Regions from separate parts of the Homo sapiens genome. Here regions 1 and 2 are each linked to region 3. Evidence: promoter capture Hi-C in 16 types of primary human blood cells and fetal thymus (Javierre and others, 2016). All regions are on one chromosome and are shown on one strand. The core of a region is centred on a gene start or on the middle of the fragment in contact, and the rest is flanking DNA. Distances in the headings are between cores, read along the strand shown.

Evidence for each region. The method cuts DNA at HindIII sites, captures the fragments that hold promoters and counts their contacts. A CHiCAGO score of 5 or more calls a contact.
Region 1: a contact is called between a fragment that was not itself captured here and the fragment with the promoter of CARMIL2 in region 3, in 3 of 17 cell types (endothelial precursors, monocytes and fetal thymus). The highest score is 5.9, in endothelial precursors.
Region 2: a contact is called between a fragment that was not itself captured here and the fragment with the promoter of CARMIL2 in region 3, in 1 of 17 cell types (naive B cells). The highest score is 5.5, in naive B cells.

What each region holds. Positions count from the first base shown.
Region 1 is chr16:67,925,245-67,928,299 of GRCh38, forward strand. PSKH1 (protein serine kinase H1) reads left to right here. Exons shown (of 3, transcript NM_006742.3): 3 at 2,081-3,055. The coding sequence ends at 2,398. Among named protein-coding and RNA genes, the nearest start is that of CTRL, 5.1 kb to the right of the region's middle. RefSeq lists an enhancer at 1,728-2,229. The HindIII fragment of the contact is 3,315 bases long and covers 1-2,908 here.
Region 2 is chr16:68,050,769-68,053,906 of GRCh38, forward strand. DUS2 (dihydrouridine synthase 2) reads left to right here. Exons shown (of 17, transcript NM_017803.5): 5 at 2,796-2,887. Among named protein-coding and RNA genes, the nearest start is that of DUS2, 29 kb to the left of the region's middle. The HindIII fragment of the contact is 1,675 bases long and covers 1,026-2,700 here.
Region 3 is chr16:67,643,045-67,646,483 of GRCh38, forward strand. It overlaps CARMIL2 (capping protein regulator and myosin 1 linker 2), which reads left to right and starts at 2,100. Exons shown (of 38, transcript NM_001013838.3): 1 at 2,100-2,242; 2 at 2,496-2,587; 3 at 2,680-2,733; 4 at 2,974-3,036; 5 at 3,142-3,266; 6 at 3,382-3,439. The coding sequence starts at 2,203. RefSeq lists a silencer at 1,794-2,183. The HindIII fragment of the contact is 10,344 bases long and covers 1-3,439 here.

The DNA of each region.
Region 1 (3,055 bases), core at 1-2,500, 280 kb after region 3:
GAGTGCAGTGGTGCGATCTTGGCTCACTGCAACCTCCGCCTCTCAGGTTCAAGCAATTCTCCTGCCTCAGCTTCCTGAGTAGCTGGGACTACAGGCACGCCACCACGCCCGACTAATTTTTGTATTTTTAGTAGAGACGGGGTTTCACCATGTTGGCCAGGATGGTCTTGATCTCATGACCTTGTGATCCACCTGCCTCAGCCTCCCAAAGTGCTGGGATTACAGGCATGAGCCACCACGCCTGGCCCTCAATATGAATCTTGAACTACACAAGCCCCCAGGAGACTTACCTGCCTGTCGGGGAGGGCTGTTGCTCTCTGCGCCCACCCACAGCCCTTGGATAGTAAGGCATCTATGGGCCTTCGTTGGCTGCATGCTCCTGGACCCTGACTTTCCTCCTCCTGGGGGCCAGCATCTCCCCAGGAGTCACTGGGTGCTGCTGGCCCACTGATGAGGATGACCCTGTTAGGTGTGTTTGGGAATATGGTTCCCCTGTTGCTCCCACTTCAGCTCAGTAAAACTTGGAATAACCTTCCAAAGAGTGGGTGAAGACAGCAGCTGCAGGTAGCCCCAGGCCTTCCTCAGGACGGTGGAAGCGTGTTCTCCCTGCCTCATCCCTCTGTGGCAGTGGGGAAGGGGGTAGGGAAAGAGTTGGAGGTCAGGCGAGCCAGACTGGGAGTAGCAGTAGTCAGTGAGTGTGTGTGTCTGCTAGATGGCTGTGCACCTGCCCTGAAGGTGGTCTCTCAGATCCTCCTGAACCCCCTGGAGGGCATGTTCAGGGGTTCCTCAAGGTGAAGGGTACCATGGGTGGTGAAGGGTACCATGGGTGGAACAGGCAGACCTCACCTGGCAGGAAGGAAAGTGAGGGGATCGTTAGCATCCCTGTTGAGTCATCTGCAGCAGGCTCAGGAAAGGTCCTAGCTGCCTATCCTTGGGGGAGCCTCAGAGCCCGTGCCAGAAGTGTTCCTAGGAGATGCAGGGACGCAAGGACTCACCTGGCTGAGCCCCAAGGCCTGGAAGCAGCTCCAGGAAAGGGCACCCATCCGGCAGCACCGTGGGTTGTTTACTGTCTGAGCCTGTGCCTACTGAGTGCTTCCTGTATGCGCAGCACCAGGCACGGGCTCATCCAGCTCAGCATGATCTCATGGGAATACTAAACGAACATGAAATTGCAGTCTCACGTTACAGCTGGAATAATTGCTGGAAGCACTGGGGGCTAAGAGGGAGTCTGAGCAAGTGTCCTTTACCCTGAGAACCTGAGGATCCAGTCAGGTGAAGACAGCCGTACAACCTGAGGCCCTGAGACAGACAGCTGCTGGGTTCGGGGCTGAGATGAGGCAGCCCGGGGTGCATGTGGCAGAGTGGGCTTTATGGAGTTCCTCCCAGGGGACAGAATGTACTAAAATGAGGCTGGCGCACAGCACTGCCAGGAGCCCTTTGTGGCTTAGAGAAGTAATGCGGGCCAGAGGGTGCCACTGAGAAGGGTCCTGGTTCCTTCCTGGTCCCGGGATCGCCTGCCCTCAGCCGACTGGGAAATCTAGTTGCCTTGAATTGTTTCCTTTCCTCCCCATGCCGGGAGGCAGAGGCAGGGAGCAGTGGTCTTCTGCCACTGCTTCGGCAGTTGGAGAGAGGTTGGATCTTCTCTGTAAGGACTAGGAAGTTCCCCTTTAAGTAGCCTGATCCTGGTCATCCAGAGATTGGAGCTTCAATCTGACTTAGGATGTGGTGGGAAAGTTTGAATCATTCTCTAACAGTCCCCTGAGTTATGATACTCCTGGGACAAGTTCGGGGGGGTCTTGGCAGAGGCCATCTCCCTGAGCCAGGCTTTGGGTCCAGTGCACCATAGAATTTGCTCCCTGGGAGAGTGCACAGGTCCTTTCCTTCCTTGCCAGACTCCATCACCTGGAGAGCAGCCCTTGTTCAGCCTGAGCCAGCGTTGGGCGGGGAGGCCCCAAGTGCTACATGAGAGGAGGGGCAGCACCTCTCTCTGGAAAGGGGAGGGTTGCTGAGTAGTGGCCTCATCCAGATGGGGTGGGCAGTGTCAGATGCTCTCACTCTAATGCTTGTCCTTGGTCTCTAGCCCTGGCCTAGTGTGTCCAACCTGGCCAAGGACTTCATTGACCGCCTGCTGACAGTGGACCCTGGAGCCCGTATGACTGCACTGCAGGCCCTGAGGCACCCGTGGGTGGTGAGCATGGCTGCCTCTTCATCCATGAAGAACCTGCACCGCTCCATATCCCAGAACCTCCTTAAACGTGCCTCCTCGCGCTGCCAGAGCACCAAATCTGCCCAGTCCACGCGTTCCAGCCGCTCCACACGCTCCAATAAGTCACGCCGTGTGCGGGAACGGGAGCTGCGGGAGCTCAACCTGCGCTACCAGCAGCAATACAATGGCTGAGCCGCCTGGCTGTGCACACATGCAGCACGACCCAGCCTGGCCACACACTGTGGTGCCATCTGGGTCCGATGCCCTCTCTGGAGATAGGCCTATGTGGCCCACAGTAGGTGAAGAATGTCTGGCTCCAGCCCTTTCTCTGTGCCTTCAGCAGCCCCTGTCCTCACCATGGGCCTGGGCCAGGTGTGACAGAGTAGAGGTAGCACAGGGGGCTGTGACTCCCCCTGAACTGGGAGCCTGGCCTGGCACTGATACCCCTCTTGGTGGGCAGCTGCTCTGGTGGAGTTGGGAAGGGATAGGACCTGGCCTTCACTGTCTCCCTTGCCCTTTGACTTTTCCCCAATCAAAGGGAACTGCAGTGCTGGGTGGAGTGTCCTGTGGCCTCAGGACCCTTTGGGACAGTTACTTCTGGGACCCCCTTTCCTCCACAGAGCCCTTCTCCCTGGTTTCACACATTCCCATGCATCCTGATCCTTAAGATTATGCTCCAGTGGGAGACCCTGGTAGGCACAAAGCTTGTGCCTTGACTGGACCCGTAGCCCCTGGCTAGGTCGAAACAGCCCTCCACCTCCCAGCCAAGATCTGTCTTCCTTCATGGTGCCTCCAGGGAGCCTTCCTGGTCCCAGGACCTCTGGTGGAGGGCCATGGCGTGGACCTTCA
Region 2 (3,138 bases), core at 613-3,112, 410 kb after region 3:
CATTTGCCCATGTCAGTACCTAGGGGCAACTATGTCAGAATTGATTTTACCAGAGCCTTAACAGGGGTTCCCAGTATTTTGCTGTTATAAACAGAGTTGCATTATAAACACACAAATATTTTGTGGTTCTTCTCTCATACTTCTTACTGCCAGTCATGAGCTGTCTCTGTCAGTGATCACTTTGATTACCTCTCTCAACATGTCATTGCCTTTATCCCACCCTAAAAACCTTCTCATCTGTTTAGTGCTGGATGATAATAAAACCATCCATGTATGGAAATACTTTAAGTGCATCAAAGATCTCATTTATTTCTCAAGACAGCCTTTGAGGTAGGCATATTCTCCCATCTGCCACGTTCAGTCTTTTTCATGTATAGTGATCTTTGAAAGCTAGTAATGGTAGCACCTATTGTGGAGCTTCTTTAGGAAGCTGACAGATAAAATACAGTTGCTTCTCATTATGCACCGTTGTTGTTTCTATAAAGTTGCTTTAAACATCAAATGAGCGGATACTGAACCATTGACCCTGGGGTAAACAAAGGGTTAGGTTTGTGCAAGCCTCTGGTCATATTTTCATCAACTTGTCAGTCCATAACTTTGTTTTATGTGTGTTTCTTTGTTTTTGTTTGGTTTCTTTTTTGTGACCAGGTCTCACTCTGTTGCTCAGGCTGGAGTGTACTGGTGTGACCATAGCTCGCTGCAGCCTCAAACTCCTGGGCTCAAATGATCATCCTGCCTCAGCCTTCCAAGTAGCTGGGATTTCAGGTGCACACCTCCATGCCCAGCCAATTTTTAAATTTTTTGTAGAGATGGGGGTCTTGCTATGTTCCCCAGCTGGTCTCAAACTCCTGGCCTCAAGTGATCCCCCTGCCTCAGCCTCCCAAAATACTGGGATTACAGGACTTAGCCATCACACTGGCCATGTGTTTCTGTTTAAAGGCATATTATTTAATATATACCATTGATTCACTTAACATTGAACCCACTAACATGGGTAATAGTGCTATAATTTCATGCCGAAACAAAGCTTATTCAAGATGTGTATTTTCTCTGTAAGTCCCATGACCGTTTTCTTGTGCTTAGGAACATTAGATAGCATTTCAGCAGTATGGTTGGGACCATTTTATTTTATTTATTTTATATTTTTTGAGATGGAATCTTACTCTGTAGCCCAAGCTAGAGTGCAGTGGCGTGATCTTGGCTCACTGCAACCTCCGCCTTCCCGGCTCAAGAGATTCTTGTGCCTCAGCCTTCCAAGTAGTGGGGACTACAGGTGTGTGCCACCACACCCAGCTAATTTTTTTTTTTGTATTTTAGTAGAGACTTGAGTTTCACCATGTTGCCCAGGGTGGTCTCGAACTCCCTAACCTCAGGTAACCCACCCGCCTCGGCCTCCCAAAGTGCTGGGATTACAGGTGTGAGCCACCGCACCCAGCCACTTGGGACCATTTTAAACAGTGAGATCACCAACAAAAAGCATAGACATGCAGAAATGTGGCATGAAATATACCACAAAAGGGACACTTGTTGACAGTATGAGAGCTGAAGGGAGAAGACAGAGCATCACCTTGTTTGACCTCAGCTGGGAACATGCACATCAGGCAACTCAAAACTTTCACCACTCTGTTCCTGTCCTTGGATGACCATGAAAACATCACAAGTATTGATTTTGGGGTCACAAATAAATGTTAGCAAATAGGCACATTTGCAAATATGCAACTATGAATAGTATAGGAGATTGATTGTTATATAGTAACCTTCCACTCATAGCACCTGTCTCACTGTAAGTAAATAGTAAATTTGCTGAACTTCAGAGTGATGTTTTCTGGGAAAATTTGGGCCAAATCTGAAACATAGACAAACTTCCATGTATGGACTTTTTTTTTTTTTTTGAGACAGAGCCTCCCTCTGTTGCCCAGGCTGGAGTGCAGTGGCGCGATCTCAGCTCACTGCAATCTCTGCCTCCCAGGTTCAAGAGATTGTGCTGCCTCAGCCTCTTGAGTAGCTGGTATTACAGGCACCCTCCACCACGCCCAGCTAATTTTTGTATTTTTAGTAGAGATGCGGTTTTGCCATGTTGTGTAGGCTGGTTTCAAACTCCTAACCTCACATGATCCACCTGCCTTGGCCTTCCAAAGTCCTAGGATTACAAGCGTGAGCCACTGCGCCCGGCTATGTATGTACATTTTGTTTCAACATTTTTTTTTTTTTCGAGACGGAGTCTTGCTCTGTCGCCCAGGCTGGAGTGCAATGGCGCGATCTCGGCTCGCTGCAACCTCCGCCTCCCAGATTCAAGCGATTCTCCTGCCTCAGCCTCTCGAGTAGCTAGGGTTACAGGCATACCCCACCACGCCTGGCTAATTTTTGTATTCTTATCAGAGACGGTGTTTCACCATGTTGGCCAGGCTGGTCTTGAACTCTTGACCTCATGATCCGCCCGCCTCGGCCTCCCAAGGTGCTGGGATTACAGGCGTAAGCCACCATACCCGGCCCGGTTTTAACATTTTAAACGTTGCAAAATGTTAACCACCATTCAGAAAAAGTGCATTAAACACAAACATGCAGTTTCACAAGTAATTGCAAAATGAACAACCATCACCCAGGTCAGGAAATAGACCATCCTCATCATCACAGAAGCCTCCCATGTGCATAGTTATTTTTGGTAAGAATGGTATACATTTAGGATCTCTTTCCCCTTGAAGCTTATACTCTGGCTGTGTTTTCTTCCAGGGCTTAGGCTAGCGTTGAACTTGCATCTTCATTGAGTGACCCTATGTGTTTGGGTTTTCTTGCAGAGGTGCTCAGCACAGTGGACTTTGTCGCCCCTGATGATCGAGTTGTCTTCCGCACCTGTGAAAGAGAGCAGAACAGGGTGGTCTTCCAGATGGTGAGAGACTCCATTGCTGCATGCCCTCCTGAGGCTCACCATCCCCTGGGATTTCCCAACTCATGCCCTGTGCCAGGCCAGTGTTGAATACCTGGGGTACATTGTACAACGATGGCTTCCTGAAGATTCTGCTTTAATGTTTTCCAAAGAGCCAGTCATGAGTAATTATACTATTGGAGACAGTTTATGGAAATCAAGCTATCACAGTCTTATATGTCTCTAGTCTCAAATTTAATTTACTTACTTGTAGG
Region 3 (3,439 bases), core at 850-3,349:
CTACTGAATTGTCACCCTACAAGCAGTTTGAGGGTTCTGTGTGGTCTTAGAGCCTTAGATCTTAATCCAAATTATGTCTCTTCGTGGCCAGGCATGGTGTCTCACGCCTGTAATCCCAGCACTTTGGGAGGCCGAGGTGGGCAGATCACCTGAGGTCAGGAGTTGGAGACCAGCCTGACAAACATGGTGAAACCCCGTCTCTACTAAAAACATAAAAATTCCCTGGGTGTGGTGGCACATGCCTGTAATCCCAGCTACTTGGGAGGCTGAGGCAGAAGAATTGCTTGAACCCAGGAGGCAGAGGTTGCAGTGAACCAAGATCGCCCTACTGCACTCCAGCCTGGGCAACAAGAGCGAAGCTCTGTCTAAAATAATAATAATAATAATGATAATAATAATAATAATAATTAGCCCAGGCATGGTGGTGGGCACCTGTAATCCCAGCTACTCGGGAGACTGAGGCAGGAGAATTGCTGGAACCTGGGAGGCGGAGGCTGCAGTGAACCAAGATCGCCCTACTGCACTCCAGCCTGGGCAACAAGAGCGAAGCTCTGTCTAAAATAATAATAATAATAATGATAATAATAATAATAATAATTAGCCCAGGCATGGTGGTGGGCACCTGTAATCCCAGCTACTCGGGAGACTGAGGCAGGAGAATTGCTGGAACCTGGGAGGCGGAGGCTGCAGTGAGCCAAGATTGTGCCACTGCACTCCAGCCTGGACCACAGAGCAAGACTCTATCTCAAAACCAACAAACAAACCAAGTATGTCTCTTCAATCGGGGAGGCAGCAGGAACTCTCTGTGCTGCATCTTCTGCAGCTGACTCCTCCTTGTCACCCTTAGCTGTCATTTCACCTCCACCTTGCTGAGCTATGGGCAGGGTAGACTGCTGTTCCTTACCGCTTAAGTGGAGTTTAGATTGTAATAGAAGAAAAAAAATGCAGTCTCTTCCTGTGAACTTTCCAGAATCTAGGTCCTGGTCTTTGAGAGGGCAACAGGCTACCAGGCCCCACCCTATGACTGTCTGACCCCTCTCAGCCCTGGAGACACTGGCTTATTTCTCTCTCTCTGGCTGCCCCCTCCCAAACTCTCTCCAGCCTGGGGAGAAGGCAGACACAAGAAGACCCTCATGTACCTGGACGACTCACTCCGGCCCTCTATGAAGTGCTTGGGGTTCAGGGCTCACCTTAGCCCCAGGCTTCCCCCCGAAGGCTCCGGGTACACCCTCACCTTCGGCCCTGACCCCACCTCTGCGGCAAGGAAGGGCGTCTGGACCCATCAGGCTGTTTTTTTTTTTTTTTTTTAGACAGGACCTGGCTTTGTCACCCAGGCTGGAGTACAGTGGTGCGATCTCCGCTCACTGCAAACTCTGCCTCCCAAGCTCAAGTGATCCTCCCACCTCAGCCTCCCAAGTAGCTAGGATTACAGACACACGCCATCACGCCGTCTAATTTTGTAAATTATTTTGCAGAGACAGGGTCTCCCTATGTTGCCCAGCTTGGTCTCGAACTCTTTGGCTCAAGCGTTCCTCCTTCCTCGGCCTTCCAAAGTGCTGGGATTACAGGCGTGAGCCACCGCGCCTGGCCCCATCTGACATTTTTTCCCACCCATTCAAAATCTCTTGGATCCCTAACAGGGTCACGGACTCCAGGTTCGGAGCAACGGGCAGGACCTCCGGTGTTGGCAGAATTCGGGCGCTCCTTGCTGAACAGTCCCCCTTCTGCCAGGCGCCTCGTCCACCTCCGCAGCCTGGGCTTTGGAGGGGACCAGCCCCGGTGGGCCGCGGGGATCCCCAGGCAGGCAGCGTCCCCTGGTGTTCGCGGCAGGGACTGCGGGGCGGGGTGGAAGCCGGGGGCAAGGACCCGCTGGAGGCCCGCCACACCCGCGACCCTCCCGGCCACGCCACTGCCCACCCCGACGTCTACCCTGGCGGAGAAGCTCCTGGGCGACGGGGCGGGCGGGCAGGTGGGACTCGGCCCCCCTCCCACAACCCCGCTCCCGGGCAAGCTCTCGAGCCGCGAGGCCGGGGCGGGGAGGGGCCGGGCCGGGGGCGGCCTGGCAGGAAGCGGCGCGCACCTTCCGCCGCCGGAGGAGCAGGTGGCTGCCGTGCGGGTCTGGGCCCCAGGCTTCCTGTGTGCGCGCTCGTCCTCTGCTGTTTCCCGCCGGAGCTCGTTGGGCCTCCCCGGCCCGCCCGGCCCATGGCCCAGACCCCCGACGGCATCTCCTGTGAGCTCCGAGGTAAGCGCTGGCCCTTCCTGCCTTCTTGGCCGGGAGGAAGTAGTGCAGCCCCAAAATCAGAGGCCCACCCAGCGCCCCAGAGGGCCTGGTCAGAGGTCCTCCCTGCTCCCCAGGAGGGCAGGCGCCCCAGATCCTCTCCCCTCCTTCCTCGCTGGCCGCAGATAAGCCCCAGGGCCCCAGCCTGGCACAGACTGTGGGCACCAGTGGCTTCTGTGCAAGGACTGAAGTCACCCAGCAGGCTGCCCTTCCACAGGCGAGATCACCAGGTTCCTGTGGCCCAAAGAGGTGGAGCTGCTGCTGAAAACCTGGCTACCCGGGGAGGGTGCTGTGCAAAACCATGTCCTGGTATGGGGCAGGGGACAGAGCCGGGGAGGCGGCTGTGGCCCCACAGAAAGAGCCTCTTGCTCTGCCCAGGATATCAGACTGTCTTTCCCCAGGCACTGCTACGATGGAGAGCCTACCTGCTGCACACCACCTGCCTCCCGCTGAGGGTGAGTCCCAGGGCCTGGCCACACCCCCGCCCGCCAGCAGCTACCTTGGCAGGGGGCTGCATCTGCAGAGTGGTCCTTCTTGGCCTTGTGGGCCCTGACTTTGCACCAGCACTGGGCTCTGGGCAGCCGACAGGAGGGGAGTCCAGGCAGATCTGGCTCTGCCCCAGGCTGCCCAAAGGACTGGACTTCCATGAGGGCGGGGCTGGGGGCTTGGTCCCAGCTGATCTAGGCCCTTTCTAGGTGGACTGCACGTTCAGCTACCTGGAGGTCCAGGCCATGGCGCTGCAGGAGACACCCCCTCAGGTGAGACACCTAGTACCCTACCTGGGCCTGCAGCCTGGTCTTCATGCTACCACCATCACCTGCGCCCATGTGTGGAGCCGAGGCCTAGTAGTGCCCCTTCCCTAGGTCACCTTTGAGCTGGAGTCCCTGCGTGAGCTGGTCCTGGAGTTTCCTGGTGTGGCCGCCCTGGAACAGCTGGCCCAGCACGTGGCTGCAGCCATCAAGAAGGTCTTCCCTCGCTCGACCCTTGGGTGAGGCCTGGCAAATTCGAGGGGCTGGCAGGGGAGGAGGGAGTGCATGAGAAGGGCTGCTTCCCATCCCAGAGGCTGGAAGTCCTTTGCCCCCTTCTCCTTAACCCCCTACCAGGAAGCTATTCCGGAGGCCCACACCAGCCTCCATGCTGGCTCGGCTGGAGAGAAGCAGC